Regions from separate parts of the Homo sapiens genome. Here all the other regions are linked to region 2. Evidence: promoter capture Hi-C in 16 types of primary human blood cells and fetal thymus (Javierre and others, 2016). All regions are on one chromosome and are shown on one strand. Each heading gives the region's core, a stretch centred on a gene start or on the middle of the fragment in contact. The rest is flanking DNA. Distances are from core to core; before and after follow the strand shown. Region 1 overlaps SLC44A5 (solute carrier family 44 member 5). Region 2 holds the start of SLC44A5 (solute carrier family 44 member 5). Region 3 overlaps SLC44A5 (solute carrier family 44 member 5).

Region 1 (4,286 bases), core at 244-2,743, 370 kb before region 2:
CCCCACATACCTCATGTTGAAATTTGATCCCCAGTGTTGGAGATGGGGCCTAATGGGAGGTGTTTGGGTTCATAGATGCAGCAGCACCCTGTTCTTATAGTTCAGGGAAGCATCTGTCCTGTTAATGGGGTGTTCATGAGGGCAGATCCTCCTTGTTCTTGTGATGATGAGTAGCTTCTTAATCTATTAATTCCCTCAAGAGTTGGTTGTTAGAAAGAGCCTGGCACCTCCCTCATCCTCTCTCTTGCTTCCTCACTAGCCATGTAATTTCTGCACATGCCAGCTCCTCTTTGCCTTCTGGTATGAGTGGAAAGCAGAAAGCTGAAGCCCTCAACAGAAGCAATGCTGGCTCCATGTTTCTTGTACAGCCTGCAGAACCATAAGCAAACAAACCTCTTTTCTTTATAAATTACCCAGCGTCAGGTATTCCTTTTGTAGCAACACTAAGCAGAGTAAGACAGTTAGAAGACACTAACCTTACTCAGAGCTCACCCGTTTTATATTCACTTGTTTCTGTGTGCCTGTGTATGTGCGTAGTTCTATGCCATTTTATCAGACATGTGGTTGTGTGATCACTACCACAGGACAGAGATGGACTTTTAATAAAACACTTTATGATTTTACAGTATAATTTAAGATTAATATTGCTTGTGTAGTCAATGCATATTCAGGGTTAAAATCTTCCTTCCTTTCCTAAATATGAATAAAATGATGATTTAAAATTCTCTGAATATTGAACACCTATGACACTAATAATTATTAGTGCCCGTGAATTCTCAAACACAATTCTCAAAATGTAACTGGGGTTTTATCACCATAAGAAACTAACAAATCAAGGCTATTTGGCACAATCAATCATCATTATGGTCTTTTACCAATACCATCTAAATGTGGACAGAGAGGTCATCTTTGCAATTATTTTACATTAATAAACTTTGGGGGCCTATCAGTGCCAAGCCAGATCACCATGCTACTTCACGAAGCCACCACAGAGTGACTGAAATCCAATTAGTAACTCCACAGAGGGAAGGCAGAATCAGAGGAGATACACTATTGGTTTTGCTTTTTTTTACAATAAAAAACAAAAGTCAGATGAAGCCATGTGAGCTGCAGCTAACCCTTTCAAGTCTCTCCATCACCTTTAGTTCCTTCTTCTGAAATCTTTCTCAGCCCTGACTTGCTCCATCTCCCTACTCTGGTAATTATTCTCATTGGCCAAATTGTAGCTCAACTCATTGGCAGTTAGGTAAAAACACTGCTGCTTAGCTGACATCTCCTTTCCATCTTTTGGGTTATGTACCTGCTGTACACAAAGGCATTTGGTGTGGACCCTACAGCTAAGTTAGCAGGAGAATAACAAAATGTATAGGCCTCTCTCACAGTTAATATTTTCTTGAAGCAATAGCAGTTCAATTCCCTCTAGAAATTTTGGCAGGGCAAACAACTCATCTCCACATCCACACCTCCACATGTATTTCCTCTTTCTTAGTCTCTCATCCACACGTGTGCATGCACACACACAATGACATTTGCATATTCATGTACCTTCAGAGAAAATATTAGTGGCTTCATAGGTATCTTTCTAAGAAAGCTGAAGAACAATTTAGGGACATTCACAGCATGCAACACACCCACATCTTTTAGAAGGTTAAGATGATTATCAATGCAAATGTCAAAAGTTCATTCTGATTGGAGCCAAGCTGAATAAACCATTAACATATTAGGAGATACTTGACAGACATTTAGACTTCAACAATTGACTCATGTAACTTTGAAAGACAACTGAACTACTTCTATTGAATACACTTAAATGGATTTATAAGTGAGTACTGAAAGAACTAATGCTTTCACAGGCTTTAAATGATGGTAGGTACTTCTGAATTGAGACCATGATGATTCTGTATTTATAAAGCACACACAAACAATGTATACTACACATAGAAAAGTGCTGTGTATGCAACACATAAAAGAAAGTAATTAAAATAGTAAAACGTAGTTTGTTAAGGAGAATCACATCAAATCTCATTCTAGACACAAATGAGCTGTTAAAAAACAATACAACTGCACTTTACTTTCTCCCTCTATCAGACCAATTTGTTCACTTCAAATAGGGTGCAGATTAGTAGTAATCAACATATAATTAGCCAAAATGAAGGTCACATTGAGATTGGATGTTCTAATTGATCACAGTCTGTCCTTTAAGTGCTTGTGACACATGTCTGGACCATGCCAGCAGTTAACAAAAACATCGTGCATAGAAATATGGCTCAGATCAGTAGATGCACCGTCTGGAAGACTAAATGCAAGTCTTCATTATTAGCAGTCAATAATGACTCAGCTAATAAGAGCTAATTCTGACTCAGTTCTGATTCTCTGTGCACCACAAAGGGCACTTTGCATAAAGCTCTGTATTACCATTTCTATCTTTAATTCAGATAGTCTTAACACTCAGTTACAAATTGGAATTTGGTGGCTGGGAGAGTGAATTACATTGAAGGTTAAAACACCACATTTGTTATGAAGAAAAGATGATCTAGTAACTCATTTATGAAACAAGAAAAAAGCATAATATGCAAGTATATTTTGTTTTATCATAGGAATGATAGATTTGTAGAGTACAGTGGAAAAATTCTTAACTAGAAGTAGGAAGATATTCATTCTCTCATTCATTCAGTCATTTGTTCATTCATTTAATAAATATTTACTGATCCCCTACTCTGAGCCTGTTCCAGGCACTGAGGACAGAAATAGTAGTGAACAACACATAAAAATCCTTGCCCTCAAGCAATTTGTCTTCCAGTAGTGGTAGTGGGAGACATATAAGAAATAATAAATAAGTAAAATGTTTGTCATAAGATGGTAATAAATAGTAGTAAATAAGATGGTATAAGATGATAAATAAATAAGGCTGGAAAGGAGGCTACAGAGAGAGAAAGGAGTGGCTGCGTGGGATTCTAATTTTGAAGAGGTAGTCAAAGAAGCCTCACTAAGAAGGTAACATTTGCAGAAATTCTTGGACAGGATGAGCAATCAAGACATACAGTCATCTGGAAAAATAATTCTCTAGGTAGGGAGAACAGCAAAGTCTAAGTCTCTAAGGCAGGAGAGTTCCTGGATCCTTTCAAGTATTAGTACAACAAATGGCCAGTGTGACCCAAGTGTAGTGAGAAAAGGGAGTAGAATAGGATATGTGGTCAGAGAGTGGGTCAGACAGTGAAGGATCTTACAGGTCATTGTTAGGACCTTGGCTTTTCATATAAGTAACTTGGGAAGCTATTGGGGCATTTAAGCAAAGAAGAGACATAATCAGACTTATATTTAACAGGACCACACTGGTTACTGGGTGGAAAAGAGACTGCAAAGGATAAGGGGGCAAGGACAGAAACAGAAAGACCAGTCAGGAGATCCTTGAACTAATCTAAAAAAGAGGTGATGGCTCCTTGAACTAGGGAAGAGGTGGTGAGAAATAGTTTGGCTCAGGGTACATTTTGGAGGGAGACCTAAGGAGAGCTCAAACATGGGTATGAGAGAGAGAGAAATCAAGGATAAGGTAGAAATCAAGGTATTTGGAGCTGGCATTAATTGAGACAGGGAATACATTGGGGTGGGGAACAATTTTAGGGATAAAGTCAGAGATTAGGAATTCAGTTGTGGACATGTTAAATTTGAGATGCCAACCAAATATTCATGTAGAAATATCACATGGGTGGTTGGATAGAAAGGTCTGGAACTCAAGGAGCAGATTTATTTGGAGATGTAAATTTGAGAAGTCAGCAAGTAGATGGTGTTAAACCCAATGGACTAGGTGAGATCATCAAAAAAGTAAATACAGACTTAGAAAAGGACCAAGCTTCTTGTGGGAGGGAAATGCAGTGTTTAAAAGATGTTAGAAAGATTAAGATAACTCATCAAAGGAGACTGATAGGGAGTAGACAGAGAGTTGGGAGGAAATATAGAAGAATGTTGTGCCCTGGAAGCCAGGTGAAAAAGGTATTTTAAGGAGGTGGGATTGATTAAATACTGTTGTTAGATCAAGTAAATGTGGATTTAATACTAACCATTAGCTTAATAATGTTGAGGTCGATGGTATTGTTTAGGGGAAATTGAAGTAGGGATAAAAGCTTGGATGAGAGTGAGAGGAAAGGATTTAGATAGATAAATGTGGACTATTCTTTTGAGGAGTTTTGAAAAAAAATAAAAGAGGCACAGAGATATGGACCAGTAGCTGGAGGGGGATGTGGGATCAAGGGAAAAATTTTTTAAGATTAAAGAAATAACAGTAGTGA
Region 2 (4,791 bases), core at 301-2,800:
TGGTTCGGTAGTGCTTCAATTTGGAAAGTATCTTCTAAACTAAATGAACTAGAGGAGCCAGGAATCAGTACTCAAAAAAGCAGAGGAGAAAGCAAGCTGCTACAAGAAACTCAAGGGAAACAAGAAAAGAGAACTTCAGGGTTTCAGCCCAATTCACTAAATAGGAAAGAGGGCTAAGATTCAAGATCAGTGTTGGAACTAGTAACAAATATTACATTTCATGATAGAGGTGCAAAAATAATGAACCACAGGTATATTCATGATCTAATGTTATGTAACCTATTACCCCCAAATTTTAGTGGTTTAAGACAAGAGTAAGCATTTATTATATCTTATGGTTTCTGTGATTCAGGAATCCAGAAGCAGCTTGATTGGATAGCTCTGGGTCGGGGCTATCATGAAATTCAGTCAGATGTTGGCTGAAGCTACAGTCATCTGAAGGCTTGACTTGGTTGCAGGGTCTGTTCCCAAGATAGATCACTCACATAACTAGCAAGTTGTTGCTATTAGCAGGAGGCCTCAGTTCTTCCCACACAGAGCTAAGATTCAAGACTTCTATGCAAGTCAAGAAATACACACACACACACACACACACACACACACACACACACATAGTGAAGTCTGAATATAAATTAGGAACTGAGCTCTTCTTCTCTCTCCATAGGTATATACATATACATACATATACCTATATACACATAGATATCCTGGAGAATTATTTAGAGAGAGCAATATTTCTACATCAGCTCCCTAGGCCAAGTAAGGTGACCCAATGGACTTCACTTTTCTAAAAAGTGCAGTTATACTTATGTATCTTCTCTTACTATTCATCAAAATACCGACAATATTTTGGGCTGAAATGTTAATAATATCTGTATGAACCTCTGCTTCAAAAAATAATCCAAGGGATCCTTGAGTATTTTTAAAACATGGCATCTGGTTTCCCCAAAATGAGCAACATAAGAAAGCAAAGAATACAAAAGAACAAGGCAGAAGCCATAGTGTATGTCTTTATGATGTAGTTTTCTGCTGTACAGTACTGATCACATGGTCAGCTGTGATTCATTTTGGAAGGGGAGTATGAACAGGTGTGAATACCAGTAGGTAAGGATTCCTAGAGATGTTATCAACATCTCAGCCCGAAATATTGTCGATATTTTGGTGAATATTAAGAGAAGATACATAAGTGTAACTGGACTTTTTAGAAAAGTGAAGTCCATTGGGTCACCTTACTTGGCCTAGGGAGCTGATGTAAAAATACTACTCTCTTTAAATAATCCCCCAGGATATCTATATATATACACACACACACACGGAGAGGAAGTGCTCAGTTCCTAATTTATATTCAGACTTCACTATATATATGTGTGTGTGTGTGTGTATTTCTTGAGTTGTATAGAATACGTACTTATGAATAACAAACTTGACCAATTTTCCTACAGACATAGACTTCTTGCATTTAGCAGTATCACTCACCTCTTACTCCATCATTTCTTCAATAACTCCATCAACACTGAACCTTCTAACTCTAACATGCTACGATTCACTACTGTGAAAAAAAAGCTGATGTCATAAACACATTGTGTTCCAGTATCACTAAGGGCCATACCCCATTCTTAGGTAATCCCTGAGGTCCTACTAGCCTTGCTAGCCTCAAAGGAGTCACTTGGAGTATAAAGAGGGGGAGGAGACTGAACAAAGTCCTGGAGCTATAGTATATTTTTTCATTGTTAATCCTTGGCAAAGAAGTAGGTAGTTTGGAGGTGGAAGTAGGCCATGATTACCTTTAAAATAATCTACTATTATTTGTGTCTTTCCTGAATATCATAGCACCTTCTTGTCACAAATGCTTAGGGGAAAGAAAATCATCCAATATACCCCATATCCCACTTACCAACATCTCTACAGTAAAATGAGACCCAAGAGCATGATTTCCTTAACTAGCTATCAAGCAACTACCTCCAACAAACAGCAGTTATCATTAATATGTTCATGCTATTTTCATTTGTGAGGTCTGTAATCCATCAGAACAACCTGACAGTGATTAAGTAAAATCAAAGAGACTTTGTAAACATCTGTGTGCTTTTATTGTTACAAATGCTTCATTATAAAAAGATCAGTCAAAAGCATAAAAGTACCCTGGTTTAAACTTTTTCTGTGTTTGAATGAGAATGTTTCTCTTGGAACATGCTCATATCAGGCTTCCACTTGGCAAAATCACGAATTGGCTGATGTTGTTTTAGAGGCTTTCTCATGTCCCCTTCCAAACATCACTCTTCTCCTTCTGTGGACCCCTTTCTGTTATCTAGGAGCCCCTCATGCTGCCTTCCACATTCTGCCTACTGCACAGTCATGTTCTGGACCCCTCAGAATCCCCCTCTACCATTACAATATGTTTTTCCTAAGACTTACTTGCATTGAAAGGCTTGCCAGGGAAGTGACTAATCTTATCATCTTGTACTAAATGTTAAATTAATCCTCATTCTCTCTAGAATTGTTTTCTAAGCAGGGATTCCTAGAGATGCTATCAATATCTCAGCCTGAAATTGCATAGGTATTCTGGTGAATAGCAAGAGAAAATAACGTGAGTATAACTGGACCTTTTAGAAAAGTGAAGTCTATTAGGTCACCTTAGTTGGCCTAGGGAGTTGATGTAGGAATGCTCCTCTCCCTGAAATAATCTTCCAGGAGAGGAATGTATCCCCAAATAGCAAGTGAATATCCAATGGCTTCTCATTGCACTTAAACTCTATATTCCTTTTTATGACCAAAAAGGCCTGGCTTCTCCCTAACTGTCTCTTCCTTACACATTACACCTCTTCCTTTTGTATGTGAATGTGCCAAGCTACCACCTCATTTCTACCTTAAGGCCTGAAGTGTTATGTTCCAGTTCTTGGCATGCAAATTACTCTTCATCACTTGTTTCCCGACACAAATGCCACCTTTCCAGACAATCTAAAGTAACCTCAAAATCATTTGCTCGCACATCACTTTGTTTTATTTCTCCTGGTATTAATCACTATGTGAAATTTTCTGGTTCATATTATTTGTCACCTGCTTCTTCCAGGCCTCCTCTTACTTCATTGTCTATCATGTTCATTACCGTATCCCTAGTGTTTTGCACAGAATCTGGTACATATTCAGTGCTCAATAAATATGTGCTAAATGAATAAATGAATAAATTAACCTAAACATAAGTTTTACACTTAAGTAATTGAGCAAGAAGTCTTTGTTGTACTAATATTGGAAAAGGCAGGGGTGGGGGTGGTGACGTGATTATAACCAATGTAACCAGCTTGCATTTATAAGACTTGTATTGATTATGAACTATAGCATTTTTTCGTTAAAAACATTATCAATATTGGATTGTAAAAGATTCCATTGGCCTTTCTGAAAGACTGTCCTTTTGATGAGATGTCACAAATGAATGCTAATGTCCCTTGAGAAATCCTGCCAACAGATCTTATTCTTCTATCAATGTTAAGAAACTGCATTTCTCTTTGGCCAATTTCTAGGCTTATGGATAGTCTCTCTTGCTAGGACTTCAGAAGCCAATGAGCAACTTGCCTGTCACAAGATCCGACGAATGATCTCTCCCTGCATGCGGTGTAGCTAAGCAGAGAAGCAGCTCTTGTAAGAGAATAACCAACACAGCATGGAATATTGCTAAATCTACAGTGTTTTATCCAGCAAAGTTCACCCCAGTAGCCTGCCCCTGCCAATAAAGCCTAGAAATTTTTCCTACCAGGCAGTCCCAGTTTAGTTGGTTGTAGCTTAGAAGCAGACATCTGAGAGCAGTTCAGCAAGCCTGCAGTCAGATGCTTTTGTAGAGCTCTCCTCTTAAAAGGCAAAATTGAGGCAAGTCAATAGATTACAACTTTCTGGGTTTGCTTCTGTCATCTATCAAATATCACAATTCATCCTGCTTCGCTAAAGTGAAACTCCAAGGATTTGTTTTTAAAGGTGTCCTTCTTTCTGTGAAATACTAAATGAACTTGTTTTAAAAAACAAGAACAACTCAACACAAGTTGATAGGAGCTAAGTAACATAACTTTTCCTTTAAGAAAAACATGTAGCATGAGAAAACCTTATTTTTAAAGTACTACATAAAATTTATTGAGACCACATGTCGTAAGAAAGCTTGATTATTAATCCTTCCAGAGAAACTGTTAACACTTAACTGCTATTCTTCAATTATTTCACTATCAAATTAAACTTATTCAAGAAAATACAAATGATTCCATACTGACCTACAAAACAAAAACTTTTTGGTGTTTTGAGGGGACGGAAGAATAAAGGGGAGGTGTCTTTTTCATCAAATCTCTTATATGAGCTCATTTCATCAATCTAATTGTATCTTTTTGTGCTTCTGCCAAGATTATTAATTTCAAGGGTAAGATTTTCTCTGGCTACCATGTACTGTAAAACTGTAAAATTTTTTCCACTCTTCATGGACCATTTACAATCTGCAAGGTTTGGGGTGGGAATGAAATGTATTTCTGCCAATGGATAGCCACATCAGCAGTGCTGAAAACCAATCCTTCTGTTTCACTCATCGTGCCATATGGCTCCATAAAAAAGGAGCGAACCAAAAGTGTAGCTCATACGCCTTGTCAATCTGGGCTTAGACTAATTATTTGATATTATGATAAAGAGAGGAATCTGTTTGTAGGTGAATATATTCTCTCTTCTTTCTTTACTCGTGTATCTCTATACCCATGCGCTAATTTATGGAGGGGGGGAATCAGAGGTTTAAAGCCCCTCTAATTTTACAGGAGCTATAATATTTTA
Region 3 (4,514 bases), core at 1,240-3,739, 380 kb before region 2:
CTTGAATGTGTCTTGTCTGGCTCTCTAACTTCAAGAATATAAAGATGATTTTTTTTTAAAGCAACATGTAGTTAGAGATTATTTTGAAAATCTTGATTAAAGAACACAAATCTTACAAGGAGTATTACAATAACACCATTCTAGGAATATAAGATTAAAACCATCACTAAAATCATCCTGCTTAAAAAATTTTGTTACATTTAAATAAATATTTACATTTGTTAATATTAAAAAATATCCTTAAGAAATTAAAAACCTTGAAGAAACACTTCAAAAATGCAAATTTATTTTCAGATACTTATTACTCATAATTCCTATAAGTGGTTTAAATGTTTTGTTATGAAAAATTGTTGCTTGTTTTTCCTTTTCCTTTTTCTTTTTTAAAAACAAGTTTCAGGCTGGGCACGGTGGCTCACGCCAGCACGGTGGCTCATGCCAGCATGTTAGAAGGCTGAGGTGGGAGGATCACTTGAGCCCAGAAATTCAAGACCAGGCTAGGCAACATAGGGAGACCCCATCTCTACAAAAAATTAAAAAATTAGCCAGGCATGGTGGCACACATCTGTGGTCCTAGCTACTTGGGAGGCTGAGGTGGTAGAATTGCTTGAGTTTGGGAGGTCAAGGGTGAAGTTAGCCATGATTGTGCCACTGCACTCCAGCCTGGGTGATAGAGCAAGATCCTATCTCAGAAAATTAAATACATAAATAAATAAATAAATAAAAAGTTTGAAAAATCAAGCATTTGTTTCTTTTTAAACATCTTTCTTAGACCTCAGGTTAATGCCTATAAATGTCTACAACCAAACAATTTTAATTTGAAGGCAAATGGCTTGAGGTCCTTGTAAGGTAGCATTTTCTTAGATTATACAATAAATTTTCCTCAATGACTTTTCCACTTACTGTAGTTAGAGGATTATAGACACATTACTTTTTATGACACTAGTGATAAATACATTTAACAGGTTATACCAACCCAAGTTTTCCTTTAGGCAAAAAGATATTTTCTCATTATTACAATTTTAATGAAACCAGTTTTTAAAATACTCACTAAATGTGAACCATGTTTGTTGCAGTTCAAAGTACATGCTTATGTTAGTCTGAATCCCGATGTCATAGATAGTTAATACAGAACTTGGGCGTTCCTGAAGATTGGTGTACTGCTGGTAACAGTGCCATATTCCTTGAAAAAGAAAGAAAAACAGAATAATATAAAATATGATTTTCTGAAATAGGAGCTATATGTGCTCATCATACATATCTATATGAAACTGATCAGCATGGTAATTTCTGCAAAGGCAAGACACATATTTACACAGCAAATATTTTATTTGGATCCAATAGTCTAAACATGCTACTGTATTTGATATAAATGTTTTCAGTATTTGTCTTGATAATTATGGCAACATCTGGCTTTAAATGTCCTTTTGACTAGAAATGACCTTAATGTCCATCAGTAAGACATCATGATATATTTGTTCAGTAGAAAGATGCGTCAAAAACTCCTCCTAAGGTTTATACCTAATACGAATTTATGATTATCCATTTATTTATTTATCCTTGCAATTCTATGATTTTTGAGGTTATTTTAATAGATGTAACAAGTTTAGGGTTGGCATATTTTTAGTGAACTAAATCATTTTTATCCATAACATTGTCATTCTAAAATCTGTTTTGTCTGATATTATGTCTTCTTCCACTTTCTTTTGTTATTGATTGCTAGTATATTCTTTCCATCCCTTCACTTGCAAATGTTCTGTTTCCTTACATGTTGTATAACTTTTATAAATAATTTATAGCTCCAATTTGTATGTGTATATTTTAATCTGACCTGACAATCTCTGTATTCTAATTGGTGAGTTTAACATATTTATACTTTATATACTGATATATTTATATTTGTTTCTATGTTCTTAATTTTGCTTTTCGTATTCTACTTTGTGTCTATACTTCTTTTCTTCCAATTCTTGTCTTTTAAAAATTGATGATTTTTTGTTTGTTTACTTATATTCCATTTTTCTTCTCTACTCTTTTTGAGCAATCTACTCTATTTTTATAATAGATTACCTTGAAAATCTGTTCTTTTTTTAATAAGCCTAGAGTCAATATGTTAACAAGGAAATACAAGACCTTAGTTACTCAATAATCACCCACTCTAATTATTGCTCAATAATTTTGTTATGTACATTTTAAATAAATTAGTTAGCATGTAGGTAAAGCTAAACAAATTTTGCCTGCATAAAATAATAATTTTAGTGTCCAATGTCTAAAGCAATTATTATTTTATGCAGGCAAAGTTTGTTTAGCTTTACCTAAAAGCTTACTAATTTATATTCTTTGCTCACTATGTTTTCTTTTTTTTATTTTTTATTTTTGTATTACATCTCATATATTTCTGTGGAATCATTCTCCTTCTTCTGTCTCTCATAGCTGCATTCAATCCATCAGGAAATACAGCTATTATACAAATAAAAGCATGTATGGCCACCCTCAAGAGTTTCTCTCATTTGGCATATAAATTTCTGCAATCATCTCCTTACTGGTCTCGTTGCTTCCACTCTTGCCTCACCATGGTCTATTCTCAACACAGGGACTAGGGCAATCATTATATCTCATCTCTTTGCTACCCAAAGCCCTACATTGCCTCCCTGTTTCATTCAGAGTAAAAGCTTAGGTTTTATAATAATCTGTAAGGCTCTGCCCCCTTCATAAATTCTATGACCTCATCTCCTACTATTTTTTCCTTTACTCAGTACACCCATCCACACCAAGCTCTCAGCCACTTCTTCAACACACTCTTATGTTATAAGGCCTTTGCTCCAGCTGTACCCACTGTCTGGAACTTTTCCTTCATCTTAACTGTCTAACTCCATTGCTTCCAAGTGTTTTCTTAGATATTTTCCCCAAAAGAGCCCTCCTGCTAATACTGCCATTTTCACTCCTTGCCCTACCATGGCATTCTCAATCTCCCCTTACCTGCTCTACCTTTTCTTTTTTCCATAGCAATAACCACCTTCTAAGATATATATTACTTAGGCTATGAGCATCATGAGAGTAAGAACCTTAGTCTGTTCCTTTACTGTTGTACATCAAGAGTCTAAAATAGTGTCTGTACACAGCAGCTGTTCAATTGATATTTGTTGAATAAACAGAATAATGTATGACTAGATGTGGATTTCTCTTCCTTTACTCTCCTTAGTATAATGAGGGCTTCCTATATCTATGGATCCATGGTTTCATCGGTTCTAGAAAATTCTCAGCCAAGAGCTTTCAAATATGGTTGATATATGTTAGGCCTTTCTCAACCTATTTTCTATTTCTTTGAACCACACAATCATATTTTTGTCCCCTTGTTACATTCTGCTATATTTTTGGTAATTACTTCAGATTCATATTTCAGTTCATTAATTCTCTATTTTGCTGTTTAGCTTATCAATTAGTTTTTAATCTAACATTTTTATTTTGAAAAGTTCTATATGGCTCTTCTTCATGTATGCCTGGACGTTTTTGTTGATTTTTATTTTTGTTGCCCAAGCCTTTAATAAATGATACTCCATGTCCATGAATGAATGAATTCACTTTTTTTTTTTTGAGACAGAGTCTCGCTCTGTCACCCAGGCTGGAGTGCAGTGGCACAATCTCAGCTCACTGCAACCTCCGCCTCCTGAGTTCAAGCAATTCTCGTGCCTCAGCCTCCCGAGTAGCTGGGACTACAGGTGTGTGCTACCATGCCCAGCTAATTTTTATATTTTTTTTAGCAGAGACGGGGTTTCACCATGTTGGCCAGGATGGTCTCAATCTCTTGACCTTGCGATCCACCTGCCTTAGCTTCCCAAAGTGCTGGGATTACAGGTGTGAGCCACTGTACCTGGCTGTGATTCTATCTTTAATTCTTTAAACCTTTCATGCATGGTTATTTCATGTTCTATATCTTTCTTTCTTGATTTGTTTTTGTCTTTTGAGACAGAGTCTTATTCTGTTGCCCAGGCTGGAGTGCAGTGGCATGATCTCGGTTCACTGCAACCTCCTCCTCCCAGATTCAAGCAATTCTCCCACCTCAGTCTCCCAAGTAGCTGGGACTACAGGTATGCACCATCATGCCCAGCTAATTTTTGTATTTTTAGTAGAGACAGGGTTTCACCACGTTAGCCAGGTTGGCCTCCCACTCCTCACCTCAAGTGATTGGCCGCCTCGGCCTCCCACAGTGCTAGGATTATAGGAGTGAGCCACTGCAGCCAGCTACATGTTCTATATCTATTAATTCCCATATTTGAATTCTTGGAGACCTCAATCTCATGTTTATAGTATCCACTGATTTTCACACAGAACTGTTTTCTTGCAGGTCAGGTAGTCTCGGACTTTATTGATCTGAATCTGTGAAAACCTGGTGATGTTAATTGAGGAAACTTTCATCTAGAGGAGATTTACATTTGTTTATTTTGGCAGTCAAAGGGTACTAACAAACTGGGGTCATTTTAGACATTTCTAGGATGCCAGACTTACTCCAGGAGTTTCAG

The links. The method cuts DNA at HindIII sites, captures the fragments that hold promoters and counts their contacts. A CHiCAGO score of 5 or more calls a contact.
Region 1: a fragment that was not itself captured here is called in contact with the fragment with the promoter of SLC44A5 in region 2 in 1 of 17 cell types (M1 macrophages); the score reaches 5.1 in M1 macrophages.
Region 3: a contact is called between a fragment that was not itself captured here and the fragment with the promoter of SLC44A5 in region 2, in 2 of 17 cell types (endothelial precursors and M1 macrophages). The highest score is 7.8, in endothelial precursors.

The regions. Positions count from the first base shown.
Region 1 is chr1:75,243,731-75,248,016 of GRCh38, forward strand. All of the region lies in intron 7 of SLC44A5 (solute carrier family 44 member 5), which reads right to left. Among named protein-coding and RNA genes, the nearest start is that of LHX8, 110 kb to the left of the region's middle. The HindIII fragment of the contact is 4,710 bases long and covers 1-3,848 here.
Region 2 is chr1:75,609,564-75,614,354 of GRCh38, forward strand. It overlaps SLC44A5 (solute carrier family 44 member 5), which reads right to left and starts at 1,551. Exons shown (of 24, transcript NM_001130058.2): 1 at 1,477-1,551. The HindIII fragment of the contact is 10,824 bases long and covers 1-4,138 here.
Region 3 is chr1:75,226,678-75,231,191 of GRCh38, forward strand. SLC44A5 (solute carrier family 44 member 5) reads right to left here. Exons shown (of 24, transcript NM_001130058.2): 13 at 1,049-1,180. Among named protein-coding and RNA genes, the nearest start is that of LHX8, 95 kb to the left of the region's middle. The HindIII fragment of the contact is 350 bases long and covers 2,315-2,664 here.